2 separate regions of the Homo sapiens genome follow, and region 2 is linked to region 1. Evidence: promoter capture Hi-C in 16 types of primary human blood cells and fetal thymus (Javierre and others, 2016). All regions are on one chromosome and are shown on one strand. Each heading gives the region's core, a stretch centred on a gene start or on the middle of the fragment in contact. The rest is flanking DNA. Distances are from core to core; before and after follow the strand shown. Region 1 holds the start of COX6C (cytochrome c oxidase subunit 6C). Region 2 overlaps LOC112268016 (collagen alpha-1(I) chain-like).

Region 1 (7,366 bases), core at 1,973-4,472:
ATTACCCAACACTGTACTGAATTTTATACACTGCCTCTTATTCAACAGGTCCTTTTAATAACCTATTTGTGTGTCAGGCACCCAACAACAGGGTGCCACAGTAAACAAAAGACATGGTACCTGCCTTAATGAGGCTCACAGCCCAGTAAAGAACATAAACACTAAACAAAAATTAAATACAAAGAGTTATAAAAGCAAAGCTCTGAATTCTTTCATGGGGTATTATGACAAGCATGATAAACATATACATATTATCAAAAACATTTTTACGGAAAAGTTGTAAATGTGCAGCCTTTGATTAAAAATAAAGGGCATAACAAAATCCACATTAGGCAGAGTGTTAAAACGCAATTCTGTGACAATTACTCAAGGTGTCAAACAGAACTATAATCGGCCCACCATTCCTGCACGTTCCACACTCATGGATTCAAAATAATAAAAAATGCTACAAAATTAAAAATACAATATAAACTATTGACATAGCATTTACATTGCATTAGGCATTATAAGTAGTCCAGAGATGATTTAAAATATCGTCAGGGCTCCTGAACCAATTCCCCATGGATAGAGGGGCAGCTATGCTGCCTTCCCAGCCCCTCTGCATACTAGCTTCTGTAATGGGTTGAATTGTGTTTGACCAAAACTCATGTGTTTAAGTCCTAACTCTCAGTACCTCAGAATCTAAACGTTTTTTGGAAATAAGGGCTTTATAACTAAGTTAAAATGAGGCCTTTAGGGTGGGCCCTAATCCAATATGAGTGATGTTCTTTTAAGAAATTCAGCAGGCCAGGTGTGGTGGCTCATGCCTGTAATCCCAGCACTTTAGCAGGCCAAGGCAGGTGAATCCCTTGAGCCCAGGAGTTCAAGACCAGCCTGAACAACGTGGCCATCTCTGAAACCTCATCTCTACAAAAAATATAAAAATTAGCCAGTTCCGGTGGTGTGTACCTGCAGTCCCAGGTACCGGGAGACAGAGTAAGACCCTGTTTCAAAGAAAGAAAAAGGAAAGAAGGAAAGAAAATGAAAAGAAGGGCAGAAAAAGGAAAGGAAGGAAAGGTAAAGGAAAAGAAAGGGAAAGAAGTTCAGCTACAGATATATGCCCACAGAGGACCCTGTGAAGACAAAGGGAGCCATCTACAAGCCAACAGAGGCCTCAGAAGATATCAACCCTGCCAACAGATTTCTAGCCTCCAGAACTGCGAGCAAATTTAAGGCACCCAGTCTGTGGTTCTTTGTTACGGCATTCCAGCAAACTAACAAGCTTCATTTAAAGATGGAGGACAAGCTATAGTTCCTGTCACACTGAGGTGAGTGCAGAAAGGGTTAGAAAGAAACACATTACAAGGGGGAGTTTCTTTAAAAGATTTTTCAACCAAAAACACATACTTTATGACCTTCGGCACAAAGTAAAAAACATACATACCTTATACAAAGCTGCAACCCCCAGGGATAGCACGAATGCTACAGCCATATGATTTCGCAGACGCCTGGCCAGAAGGCCACGCATCCGAGGTTTTGGCAAAACTTCGGGAGCCATGGTAGTTACTGTCCTTGATACGTATGCTAACCTTAAGAGATTCAGAAAATATGATTAAGTACAGAGTTTATTTAAGCCACAAACTTGAGAATGGCCACCTGGAAGCATTGATTGGAGCTGCCCTGAATATACACTCCGATTAGCAGCAGTTACAAATGAATGTTTTTCTTTTTTGGCAGAAACAGGGTCTAGCTATGCTCCCCAGGCTGGTCTTAAACTCCTGCCCTCAAGTGATCATCCTACCTCGTCCTCCCAAAGTGCTGGGATTCCGGCCTACAAGTGAGTTAAGAAAAAATGAGAGGCAATTCCTAAACTGTTTATCAAAAATTTACATTAAAATAACATAAGCTATTGACTGACTAAACGCTGTCCTTTATATCACAAATTCAGGAATAAGATTTGGGTTGAGACATGGGTGAGGGGCGGCACTGAAGTCCAATACTCAGGTCTCTGCGTCCTGCATACCTCATGTAGCTCTCACTACTCTGAGCTTTTTTTCCCTTTCTCGGGTAAAATAATAAAAGAAAAACTCAGAAAAGATATCAAAAGGAATTCTCATGCATAGTACATTTTACTACCTAGAGAGGCACAGCACGACAGTGGATGGATTCCTCCCACAAAGCCTAAGCTGTCTCTTGGCTTAGCCTGTTTCATCTTCCCCCCGCCCCCCATATACTGAGCGACCACCCTAAATAAACGCGACAAACTGCGGCACACTAGTAATGGACGAGCAAAGGCAACAAAAATCTTTCCAACAACAAGAAAAATAAGCAGTAGCTCCGCATTGGTAATTAACGATTGCAAACCCATTTATGCAACACTTTCTCTTCTAAAAATTTTCTGTCCACTCGTTAAACCTTCGCGACAACCCTGTCAGATCATGAGGCAGGTGTTTTCCACGGTCACACGGTATACCATTAAAACCTGGACGGGAACGCGGCAAATACCATGAGGGCCCAAATTCCCTAACTGCTCCTTTGCCCAGCCTCACCTAAAGACCTAAGGGGCCTAAAAACTTTTGCGTCCCTGCTGGCCTTCAGCTAACGCGGCCGGGGGTAGGATGGGAAGCCGTGGGGCAAGGGAGGTTGCAGGAAGCCCATCCTTCCCCTCCTGCGGCAGGTACGGTGACCCTCCTCCAGTTTTCCAGCTCTAATTTAAAACGCTGCCACACAGCGAGCGACGCTGCCAGCTGCTTCGCCTACACTAACCCTTGCGCCTCACGACCAGCTGCATTAGAAACCACCACCCCTTTTCTCACGGGAGAAACACCGGGGCCAGATAGGTCAAATGACCTCACCAAGGTCACAATGGCTGTGAAAAAGCGCAGCGGGTACCAGCCCCGGGCCAGCTCACTCCGAAGCCAGCTGGGTTCTCGAGGGTCCCGCAGCCCACCCGGCTTCGGTGGGGCCGTCGCAACCCACCCCGGTCCGTGGTCCGCCCGCCGCCCTCCCTCAGGCCGCAGCGGAAGCGTGAGAGAGTAGATGCGGGAGAGGCCTGAAGCTGCACCACGGCGGAGACACACAGTCACGACTAAATCCGAGGCAGAGAGAAAGCGGGAGGGTGCCGTTGTGACAACCCGCAGTGTCGGGGTAGGGATGCAAAAGGGACCGGACTCACCTCAACACCAACGTCCTTCCTGACTAAAGGAAAAACGAACCGTGCTGTAGCCGCGCGCAGGCGCAGAATAAGAGTGCACAGCGAGAACGCGGCGACGGTAGCCGAAGGAGTTCAAAAGACCTCTAGTGCGCCCACCGCAGGTGACAGCCGAAGTTCATTTCGTGGTCTGCTTCTTTCCTGTGTGACCTTGCAAAACGGGCTTGACCTCCTTATTTATCGACCTCTTTATCTTCTTAGTAAATTGAAGATATTAGTCGTACTCATACACAGAGTCCCAAACCATGTGCACAAACCGACATTTTAATTATAACCAACCTTACGCGAATAACCGTTTGGCTTGGGTAAAAGTGAAAAAGCTGACTTCTAGGAGCTCACAGCCCAGAAGATGAAAAAGACAAACAGATTAATACCGATCCCATGCAGTGGGCACTACCACAGAGACGTGGCCCAGCTACTGCAGAAGCAATTCTCTACCTGGCAAAGCTGAGGACGTTTTGATAGAGGGGCGGTATTTTTGTGGGTTTCTTAAGAAAACAAGGATTTTGAAGGAAGGCAACTGGAAGTTCGTGGAAAGTGGTGTAGAAGGGTGAGGCTCTTGTGCCTTAATGATGCCAGGCTGTTTGTATTGAAATAACCTGAATTTTAAAAGCATTATTTAAGTCAACCCATCAAGCCCTGTGGAAGGTAGCTGGGACACAACAGATGCATGATATTGAGTCGATATATACACTGAGTACCTACTATGTGCCAGATTCTGCTAAACAAGAGGACAGATCTTCGGGGAGTCTCATTCTGATCAGGGAGTCTTTGTCCTCAACCTATTAACCAACACTCTGGAGGGTGAAACCTGGCCACAAAGAAAGGTGCTCAATTGAGGTTCAAAAGTAGGTTTGGACTTTACCAACGTTTTTCAGGCCTCTTATCAAGGGTCTACCCAGCTGAAAATCTTTGCATGGAATTTGTCCAGAGAGTAATTTGTTTCTATTCTCTTTCCATCCCCACCCCCAGAGAAGAAGTGGTGAACTTAAGAGTTCACAGGGATTAGTGTATGTGAAACCATCAGGGAAAGCTTCAGACAATACGTGGAAGAGATGGAAGCAGAGCTGAGTTTCAGTCTAATGGAAAGCCTGGAAAACTGGAGAAATTGGAGAGAAAACATTGGCTGGGAGAACATGGCAAAGACAGGCACACTCAGGGCACAGAGCCTGACCTGAGTGAAATACTGAGTGTTTGTTCTGTGCTTCCCTAGCTATCCAGTGAACCATAGTGAATGACTGAGGGTGACACGTGAATAAAACCTGAGCGATAGATGAAGAGAGACATGTTACATATAGGTTCTGTTCTAGAGCCGAACAGACCTGGATTTGAGTCCCAGCTCATCAACTTGTAGCGGCAAATTTCTTCATCTTTCTAAGTCTGCTTTCTCCTCTAAAAATAGTACCCATTTTGTTGGGTTGTGATGTAAATTAAATGGGATAATGTATATGCAGCTTGAGTATCCCTTATCTGAAATATTTGAGACCAGAAGTGTTTCAGATTTTGGATTTTTTCAGATTTTTGAGTATTTGCAGAATACATGCCAGTTGAGCATCCCAATCTGAAAATCTGAAATCCAAAATGCTCCACTGAGCATTTCCTTGAGCATCACATCAGTGCTCAAAAAGTTTTGGATTTTGGAGCGTTTTGGATTTTGGATTTTCAGATTAAGGGTGTTCAACCTATACAGTGCTTGACAAACAGACATTCTGAATATGCATTCCTCCCTGTGTTCTTTTGCCTGTCCTGCATTCCTTCAATCTTTCTTTTAGTAGCAGTGCTTAATCAATCCTTCATCACTTCTAGCCATGTGATTCTACAACAGTCAAATCTTATTCCAGACTGGGTGTGGTGGCTCACACCTGTAATCCCAGCACTTTGGGAGGCCAAGGAAGGCAGATTACTTGAGCCCAGGTGTTGGAGACCAACCTGAGCAACATAGACCACCATCTCCATAAAAAACTTTAAAACTTAGCCGGGCATAGTGTGATTTATGCCTATAGTCCCAGCTACTCAGGAGGCTGAGGCTGGAGGATCACTTGAGCCCAAGAGTTGCAGGCTGTAGTGAGCTATGACTGCACCACTGTACTCCAGCCAGACAGAGTGAGACCCTGTCTTTAAAAAGAAAAAGAAAAAACATTATTCCAGTTGAGCAGATGACCCAAGAGTAGCCAAGCAATGTAGCCCATCCCCTTGGCCACAGTAATTTGTTGAGGATGGGCACAGGATTCTGGCCAGGCCAGTGAAACTCAATTCTATGACTTCTGTTGAAACTACTGGGGGAAAAGATATCTTTTTATAGAGAGAGGAGTTTGCATTGGGTTGCAGTAGGGGTCTTGCAGATCTGTGAGAGTATAAAGCCAGAGGGTACTGTGTGCCTATAATGTGCCAAGCACAGCACATGACAAAATGGCATGAAAAGCCTCATGAAGCTTTCATTCTAGTGGGCTTCGAGGAAAAAACCAACAAAAATAAAAAATATATCTGAAGGAGGTAAGTGGAATGGAAACAACAGAGTAGGGGTAAAGAAAGTCTGTGTGAAGAGGTATCTTTTTATATTGAAAGGTTGATGAAACAACCCATGAAACAAGCCCATGGTCTTCACTAAACTAAAAGATGCCTCAGTGGAAAGACTAGGCTTGTTCTGCATAGCCCTAAGGAATAAAGTAGGATGGATGGGTGGAAGATACTGGGAGTTAGATGTCAGTTAAGTATTCCCCATGGCTAGAAATCAGTCCCTTTCAAGGTCATCCTCAACCAGAGACACATCCACTTGGGGGAGACAAGGATCCCTTAATTGGTAAAGAGGCATACCAACAGTCTTGTTCCCACTATATCTCTCCATTCTGGCCTTGACAATCACCAGGTCAGCATGTTACCTTAAAATGTGTTGATAAGATGCCACTTTTTAAATACAAACTTAGGGGGAAGTGGGGTCCAGGGTAGGGAAACAGCTGGTTGCATGGCAAGAGTGATGCCGTCTTGAAGAAAAACTGCCATGATGACCGATGTTTGACTACTGCATACCAAGGTGTTTCCATGGCATGGATAAACCCTCATAAAGATGTTTATCTAACCTCCCCAGTGGTCACAAGTTTTGCTAGAAAGTCTGAGGCATGACCAGCTGCATGTTTTACCAAAAAAGCTTGCTATATAGAGGATATTTTCTGGAGCACAGATGCGGGGATCTACCATCCCTCAGCCAACAGAGAGATTGTTTCTGTTCCTAAGTCCCTTTTAAATGTTTCTTCCTGAGAAACTGGATTTGTCAGTCTCTCTCTTCAGCCTTTGGGGGCAAGTTTGCATAGACCTGCTCACCACTGTTCCTTGTTAACTGTGAATCCTGTCCTTAGGACAAAAGACCCTTGACCATTAATCTTTCCCTTAGGCAGATTTATCAGCCTCTTTTTCAGCCTTTCAGCTTCCTCAGACTTTTGGGGGTAGGTTTGCCTAGGCTGCCTACCGCAGCACACCCAGGAACATGCTGGCTCCTCCATCACTATCCTGCTCTGAACATGCTTTTGAGAAAACCTGACCTCTCACCTGTGCTGCAGCCTTTCCTATTGTGGAAAGTGTATACAACACCTAGAAAGGCAAATTACAATGCCAAGAGCTAAAAGGAATGAAATGGACCCTGAAACAAATTAGGCAGTAGTCACTCGGAAGAGTGGAAAACTTTCAATCCTTTTGACCATAAGGTATATCACTAATACAGTATCAGTGGGAAGGGCCAGAAATAATTTTATGGATTAAGAAAATGTGAGGGGCTCAGAAGTTAAAAAGCAACAACAGAAACAAGCTCTATCTGAGGTAAAATAGCAGCAGCTGCAATATTTGACAAACCTCAGAGGTAGATCTACTGACTCTTACATATAATTTATTTCCACTTTCAAATTTAACAAATAATGAGAGTGTTGAGTCAGAGTTAGATCCTAGAGTTCAGAGACAACAGGCTGGGCATGGTGGCTCACACCTGTAATCCCAGCACTTTGGAGGCCAAGGTGGGAGGATAACTTGAAGCCAGGAGTTCAAGGCCAGCCTGGGCAATATAGTGAGACCCCCATCCCTATAAAAAAAAAACCAAAACTTTTTTTTTTTTTAATTAGCCTGGTGTGGTGGCTCATGCCTGTAGTCTCAACTACTCAGGAGGCTGAGGCAGGAGGATCACTTGATCCC
Region 2 (7,366 bases), core at 2,177-4,676, 960 kb before region 1:
ACTTGCCCCAAGCCAAGCAGCATCCTGAAGAGTGATTCCAGGTGAGATTGGGGAGCTCTAGGCCCTTCCTGCCACCCTCCTTCCATACCTATGTTACTAAATATACTTCTAGACTTGGAAGAGAGAATAGAGCCTGTAAGTATTAACACAGGACAAGGCTCAGAAGCAAAGTTAACCCACCAGGCAGAGAGGTCAGGCCAGGACAATTTTAAATGGTAATTAAGTCTCTCCACACTTATCTTTAGAGATTGTCCTTGGGCTCTGGCTGAGCAGGGCCTTCCCTGCTGTGTGTGGGGTCTGCTTGCAGTTTTGACTCTGCCCCTCTGGGGAACCCAAGCTGCACATTTTTTTCTGCAGCCTCTGACTATGAGGTTATATTAATAAAAAGGCCATTCCTGCCTTTAGCAGTTGCCGACCAAGTCTGCTTTATATGGCAACAGAGCCAGGAAGAATCCAGGGCTTCAGTACAGGGACTTTTCCACTAGTATGTACTGTTTTGTTTCATTTCCTATTCCATCTTCCAAGGAAAAAATGAAGTCCTGCTGCAGAAGACCCAGTCACTAGGCCCACCTGACACCTAGTACATATCTGACAAAAGGAATGCTGCCATGTGGTACAAGTGGCCTTCCCCAACAATCCCCAGCCAGGTTCCTGAAACCTCTCTTTTCCAAGTCCGACCCACCTTCTTTGTTCACACCTCCCCACTCTAAGAAGAAAGCTGCATATCGGAAGCCACAACTAAGAGTGAACAAAAAGGGGCAAGTAGTGGCAATATGCTCAGGGGTTCCAAAGTAGAATCCTGCCAATGCATATAGTGCTTAAAACCATAAAAGCAGCAAAGGTGTCAGTGAAAACGATGTAGAACCAATGACAGTGATTATGGTGCCAACACATATAAGATGACATATGTAGGCCGGGCACGGTGACTCATACCTGTAATCCCAGCACTTTGGGAAGCCAAGGTGGATGGACCACCTGAGGTCAGGAGTTCGAGACCAGCCTGGCCAACATGGTGAAACCCCGTCTCTACTAAAAATACAAAAATCAGCCAGGTGTGGTGGCATGCTCCTGTAATCCCAGCTACTCGGGAGGCTGAGGCAGGAGAATAAGCTTGAACCCAGGAGGTGGAAGTTGCAATGAGCTGAGATTGTGCCACTGCACTCCAGCCTGGGCAACAGAGCGAGACGCCGTCTCAAAAATAAAATAAAATAAAATAAAATAAAATAACATGACATATATAAAGAGCAAAGCACAAGCCTAGACATCCTATGGCTAAAACTGTTGGTTGTCTCCCTATATCCATTCTCCTTTTCTTTAGTAATAGAAGTCTGAATTTAAACTGGGCACATGGCTACCCAGAGTAAAGACTACATTTCCTAGCCTCCGTTGCAGCTAGATATGCCTGGTGACTAGGTTCTGCTTTCTGTGGAGTCTCCTTAGAGGTGGGGGTGGGGGGCTTGCCCTCCTTCATGCCTTCCTTCTTGCTGTGGGTCAGAATGCAGCTATCTTGGACCATAAAGTAAGAGTCATGGCTTGAAGTTGGTGAAAACACATGATAGAATGAGCCCAAGTACCTGATAATGAAGAAGCTATCCACCATATTGATGCTGGCTTGTCTATATTTATGTGGGAGAAGTCAACTTCTCTGTTGTTTAAACCCATGTTAATTTGGATTTTCTGATACACACAGCTCAATTGTATTTTAATACAATCTCCTTCCTCAAGGCCTCATACATCAATAGTATCCCCAAATTAATTGCATCATTATTTCATTAGAGAATAGCATCCAAAATAATAACTTAGAAGCTTAAAACAACCTATTCATTATAGATTCACTCCATGTATTCTCTAATTGCAATTAAAACAAGATTATAATATAATGCATGGTACTGTATTCCTACTTTTCAGTAAAAAATGAAAATGTAGACATTTTCTCTTGGTAAAAGTCTTACTGTCAAAGCAGATGAGTAACTTTTTCTCTAACATTTGTTCCAACAGCTTAAATTGTATACTCTTGATAACCAGATAATAGGTATTGAGTCAAATTTCTTCCCCTTGGTTTTCTCTCCAACTTCTTACATGGATAGGAGGAATAATTTTGTAAGGTCAGTTCATGTTAATGGGTAAGAAAAAGTCATAACTACTAAGAGCATTAATATGGATCCATGTTATTTATTTATTTATTTTTGTTTTTATTTATTTATTTTTTTTTGAGGTGGAGTCTCACTCTGTCGCCCAGGCTGGAGTGCAGTGGCCCAATATTGGCTCACTGCAAGCTCCACCTCCCGGGTTCATGCCATTCTCCCACTTCAGCCTCCCAAGTAGTGGGACTACAGGTGCCCGCCACCACACCAGCTAATTTTGTTTTTGCATTTTCAGTAGAGACAGGGTTTCACTGTGTTAGCCAGGATGGTCTCGATCTCCTAAGCTTGTGATCCACCTACCTCAGCCTCCCAAAGTGCTGGGATTACAGGCGTGAGCCACCATGCCTGGCCTGCATCCATGTTATTTAACCCTCAGAATATCCTTAATTTGCAGATTCAGACACAGAGGGTTCAACAAGCAACATGACTTGCCCAACATAATAGAGCTATTAACTAGGGATCTTGGATCCAGGGTTTCTGATGCATACGATATCATAATTGCCTATTTACTTGTACATCTTCCCAGTAGACCATAGCTCCAAATTCATTATTGCGTTCCCAGTACCTACCACAAGGCCTACCATACCAAACATCCTCAATAAATGTACATTAAATGAATTACCAACTCTAAAATACCACTCTGCTATTGCTCCCTTGCTCTGCAAGTGTTCTACAAACCAATGCCCTTAATATATTCCAGGTCACTCCCAGGCCATATGGCTTGTCAAGAGAATGTGGTCAATGATGAGACAGAGGGGGAGCAGGACTAGTGAACACACCCATATGACACACTTGTTCTCCACACTCTCCTGGGCCTGGGCGGGCCCACCACGTAGGGCATTTGGATGTGTGCCTCATGGCCTGGGAGACAACTTGCACTTAGTGTACTTTTCCAGGAAAAGAAAAAGACAACCATGGTCTAACACGTTAGAAACACTGCTGCCTGGTGTTCTGACATCATAGCATCCACCCAGTTTGATTCCTGGAGGCAAGCCCACTTGCAAAGCATGGGCCAGGGATGGTATGGGGGAAAGGACAAGGGAAGAGGGGTTTGGTGACTGAAAAGTGAAGTATGTGGCTAAGACAAGCAGTATGAGCAGACACTGTAAAGAGTGGAGGGGGGCTTCTCATACTGGTATGTCTCCAGATCCATTGAAGTTTTCTGTGTTTTGGGCTCAGAGGCAAAGATAACAGAGCTCATCACTTCTTATAAGACCAGTATTCTTTGAAACTTTGATCTGAGCTGGTCCTGCTCCAAATTCTCCCAAAAAACTATGAGGATGGGGCCAATCTAGCCGTCTGCCTCTTCCCTTACTCCTCCTCCAGCAAGGGTGCCAGAAGAAGAATGATTTGTTTTTTCTCTGTGGCTCCTTACAGTCAGGAAGTGAGAATCAGCTTGAGTGAGCTATGGTCACCAATCACAATGAAGCTACAGTGGAATTATCACCTGGCATGAAGTGAAATAACATCATTATAAAATGTTGTCTTCCAGTTGGAAAGCCAGAAGTTAAGCCTGTGCTGGCATTCACTTTCTAATAAATGGGCTGGCTTAAACATTGATTTTCTCTCCTTGACTTATAAAAATGACTAAAAATGTAAGACAGAATTCAATAAATGTTTTAAAGATTGCCATTAAATACAAATACTTTAACAATTTAACAAAACCAAGGGGATCCAACCTTAAAATTCCACCTTCCTTGTCCTCACTTCTACCCCCAAGTCAGGATGAAAGTTCAAGGTTTCAAACAATAGCACAATTGCCTCTTACCTGGTACATAGTAGACACTCAAGAAAACTGTTGAAAAGGAATTGTATGTGCCTTATTAGTCGGTACTTCACAGGATTTTTAGAGTTGGCTTGACTTGGATTAGATTCAAGAATAGTGTATTAGCCCTCCAGGGGAATATTCACAGGCAAACAGCTACAAGGATATACTACATTTTCCTTTGTTAAAACTTGTATCTGCATTCAAATATTGGCCTTGGCATTTCCTAAGGGCTGGCTGCTTTGAATGTTACTATATCAAACCATCTGCACTGGGAAGCAAAATTCTGTTAAGAAATAGAATCACTGGTAGTAAAGAGATTACCACATTCCTGACCACTGTAACATCTTATATTTTGAGAATCCCCATAAGAAAAGGTCATTTGAAAATAGCAACCCTTTGTCAAAGTGGAGATGATGAATACTTTTGTACAATTTATGACTATGGTCAGTATGAAAATTCATTTTTGTTTATATGCGTTTTCAGTGGCTTCCCTGCACTGACTCACTAAAATTAAAGCTTAAAAAAAAAAACTAAAAAAACTTGAAAATAGATGATGACAAGAGGCTTCCAGTTAGACGGGATTTTGGGGAGGCAAAGTGCCTTCTATTGTTCACTGCCCAAAACTAGAAAATCCTGGAGGGAAGCAAATGGTCCAGTGGAGGCAGCTCTTTGGCCGAGGAGAGAAGTTCAAGTGAAGGTCCTAGAGAGAAAGTGCAAAGTGAACAATCATAAGGGAAGTTGACTTGGCATAAGAAGACTAGAAAGTGCCAGTGTCATTCAGATTTTTAGTTGGGGGAGAAGGGAGACTATTTTATACTCCCTCAAGAAAAGCAAAGGGACTTGATTCCATCTTAAGGTGACAAATCAGGACGCCAATGCTGGATGCACTTGAAGGTGGAGAGCTAGGCAGATTGAGGCAGCAGGAAGCAGGGTGGGAGCCAGTGTGCACCAAGTGGGTGAGGGGAACATGTGAGTCAGTTCCAGCTGTCCTCAGACCCTCCTGCCCAGCCTCAGGGTAATCCAGGGGCACAGAGACTCTGAGCCCTGGCCCACCCGTGGTCCCTCGGATTTTGACACTCCCTCACCCCCAGTGTCATGCACTCTGACCTACTGCAGGGAGGGTTGGCAAGGTGTGGGCAATGTGTGTCAAGATGTGTGTGGAAGGTGTGCAGTAGACACACAGAATCCCTAAAATGTGATGAAAATAAAAGAATGACATCGGCACGGACAAGGAAGGCAGGCAAGTGTTACAAATAGTTAGAAACTGTAAAATGAGGTGCGACATTTCCGGAAATCAGTCAGATCTAGTATTAGATAATACTAATTAACAACAACTGGCCGTGAAAGAAGGCACCCGCACTTTTTCTCCATTGCTCTCCCCACCATCTTATGCCGACTCCTTGCGGGGAGGGGTACAGCCTTGTTCCCCTAGGTATCCTAAGCTCGTTTCCAAGTACTTGAAGGTGCCTTTGGAAAGTCTGATGAATGAGAAATAAGTGAGCGAGTGAATGAATGAATAAGCTGCCTAAAGCAGATGCGTTTATGCGTGCATTCTCTCGAGTGAAGGAAGAAGGAAGAGGTAGGGACGGAGGAGGAGAGAGAGCACGCGCGGGAAAGATAAATCGCGCCCGCCCGCGATGGACCCCAATGTCAATCTGATCTAGGTTAGTGGTTCTCAAACTTTACCATGCATCAGAATCACCTGGAGGGCTTGCTCAAACACAGATTGCCAGGCCCCACTCCCAGTTTCTGACTTAGTAGGTGAGGCCAGAGAGTTTGCATTTCTAACAAGTTCCAGATGATGCGAATGCTGTTGGACCACACTTTAAGAACCGCTGCTCTAGAGGGTAACTCGGACCTATCCCAGCGTCCCAGGGAAACGAAATCTGCAGTGAGAAATGGAACGTCCAAGGCAATCTTCAGCCGGCCTTTTAAAAACAAGTCTGGAGACGGGAGGGTAGCGCTGCTCAGCTCCAGCCAACTCACTGCCGCGTAGGAACGGAGGTCATCGGAAATCAAGATTTCCGTTTGAATTTTCCCAAAGTTTAAGCGTTGGCAAGTGCGTTGAAAAACACACACAATATGAAAGCCTAATAAAAATATAGGTTTGCAGACCGTGCCCTAGTCTTTTCCGAGGATGTTCTTTTCTGTCATCCATCGTCTACCCACGTTGAGCACGACAGCCGGGCCAGTCCCGCCCTGGGCGGTTGGGGCCTTCCCAGAGGGGCCCGGTGCGGAGAGCCCCCCTCTCCCCGGATGTGTCTGGGGCCTGTCCTTCACTGCGATGTCATCGGTAAACCTGGTCTTCCTTGTCACGGACACTGAAGCGCTTGGTTCGAAAAGCACCATGAATTCGAAGCAGCCTTGGACGCGGGATCATGGGCGTTAGCCTGGCTCTCTCCGACGAGGCAAACTGCAGGAGATCCCCTTCCCTGGAGTCACCGGAAGGCGAAAGCACGCTCTGTGCCCGCGCGCCGCCCCGGGAGCCCGCTCCTACCCCCTCGGCGTGCGGCGCGGGCCTGGAGACCGCGGAGCCCGAGCCGTATCCAGCTTGTGCAGGAGCCGGTGCGCCCTTCCGCCCGCTCCTCCCCCGGGACCATCCTCACGCTCCAGGGTCGCGGAGGCATCTTGCGACTAGCGAGGGGCTGACGGTGGCCTGGGTGGCCTTGCGCCGGCTCTGGGCTCCGCCGCTGCGGCAGCCGAGGGCCTCAGCTGGGAAATCCAAACCCGGGCTGGACCTGGGCTCAAGGAGGTTTCTGTCCCCAGGCTAGACCACCACGGCCACGGCCACGCAACTTGCCCTGAGACCCCGTGCTCGGCCTTCCCACTGAGCTCCCCTTCCCTGTGACTCAGTGCCTCGCAGGCTGGTGGCCGGAAGGGTGCCTGCGGCTGGCTGGCCCGGCCCGATTCCGGGTGGCGGGGTTCCTGCAGTGAGGAACGACCCTCAGCTCCCGCAGACGCGGGAAGGCCCCCGCGCCATCCGTGGGAGTGGGGCAGCCTGTCTGCACGCGGTCCCCTGGGAAACCCCTCTGCATCTCCCGCCCGGACAAGGTCCCCGGCCTTGGAATCTGCGCCGCCCCGCACGCGACCGCCTGCGAACTCCCTGCGCTGGGGTCAGAACTGGTATCTTTCTCCTCCTCTGGGGAAGTCAGGGCAGCCCGGAGTGGCGTCGTGGGTCCGAAAAATCCGTCTCAGAAACCCACCAGGAGAAAAGGCTCTGGGGTGGGGGACACCATGTGGGGCTCCCACAAAGGACCCGACGGTGGGTGTGGAGAAGCTTATTGGCCCTGAGAATAGGCCCAGGCCCTCTCCACAGGACCCCTACCGCACACGCGACTCTTTCTCTGCAGCAAAGGGGCTCGGGCCCAGGTACAGGGAGCCGCTGGGCCGGCGGGGCAGCTGTTGGCCAAGCCCTCACGCAGCGGAGCCCACCACCGGTGTGGCCGCCCCCTCA

What was found. Contacts are between HindIII fragments. The CHiCAGO score rates a contact against its expected background, and 5 or more counts as called.
Region 2: a contact is called between a fragment that was not itself captured here and the fragment with the promoter of COX6C in region 1, in 1 of 17 cell types (fetal thymus). The highest score is 5.8, in fetal thymus.

Annotation. Positions count from the first base shown.
Region 1 is chr8:99,890,485-99,897,850 of GRCh38, forward strand. It overlaps COX6C (cytochrome c oxidase subunit 6C), which reads right to left and starts at 3,223. Exons shown (of 4, transcript NM_004374.4): 1 at 3,155-3,223; 2 at 1,424-1,568. The coding sequence starts at 1,537. RefSeq lists enhancers at 2,065-2,713, 2,714-3,361 and a silencer at 2,835-3,004. The HindIII fragment of the contact is 2,962 bases long and covers 1,260-4,221 here.
Region 2 is chr8:98,933,723-98,941,088 of GRCh38, forward strand. It overlaps LOC112268016 (collagen alpha-1(I) chain-like), which reads right to left. Exons shown (of 2, transcript XM_047422523.1): 1 at 3,913-7,366. It also overlaps a transcript of STK3 not described here. Among named protein-coding and RNA genes, the nearest start is that of OSR2, 7.0 kb to the right of the region's middle. RefSeq lists silencers at 6,347-6,596, 7,267-7,366. The HindIII fragment of the contact is 2,000 bases long and covers 2,427-4,426 here.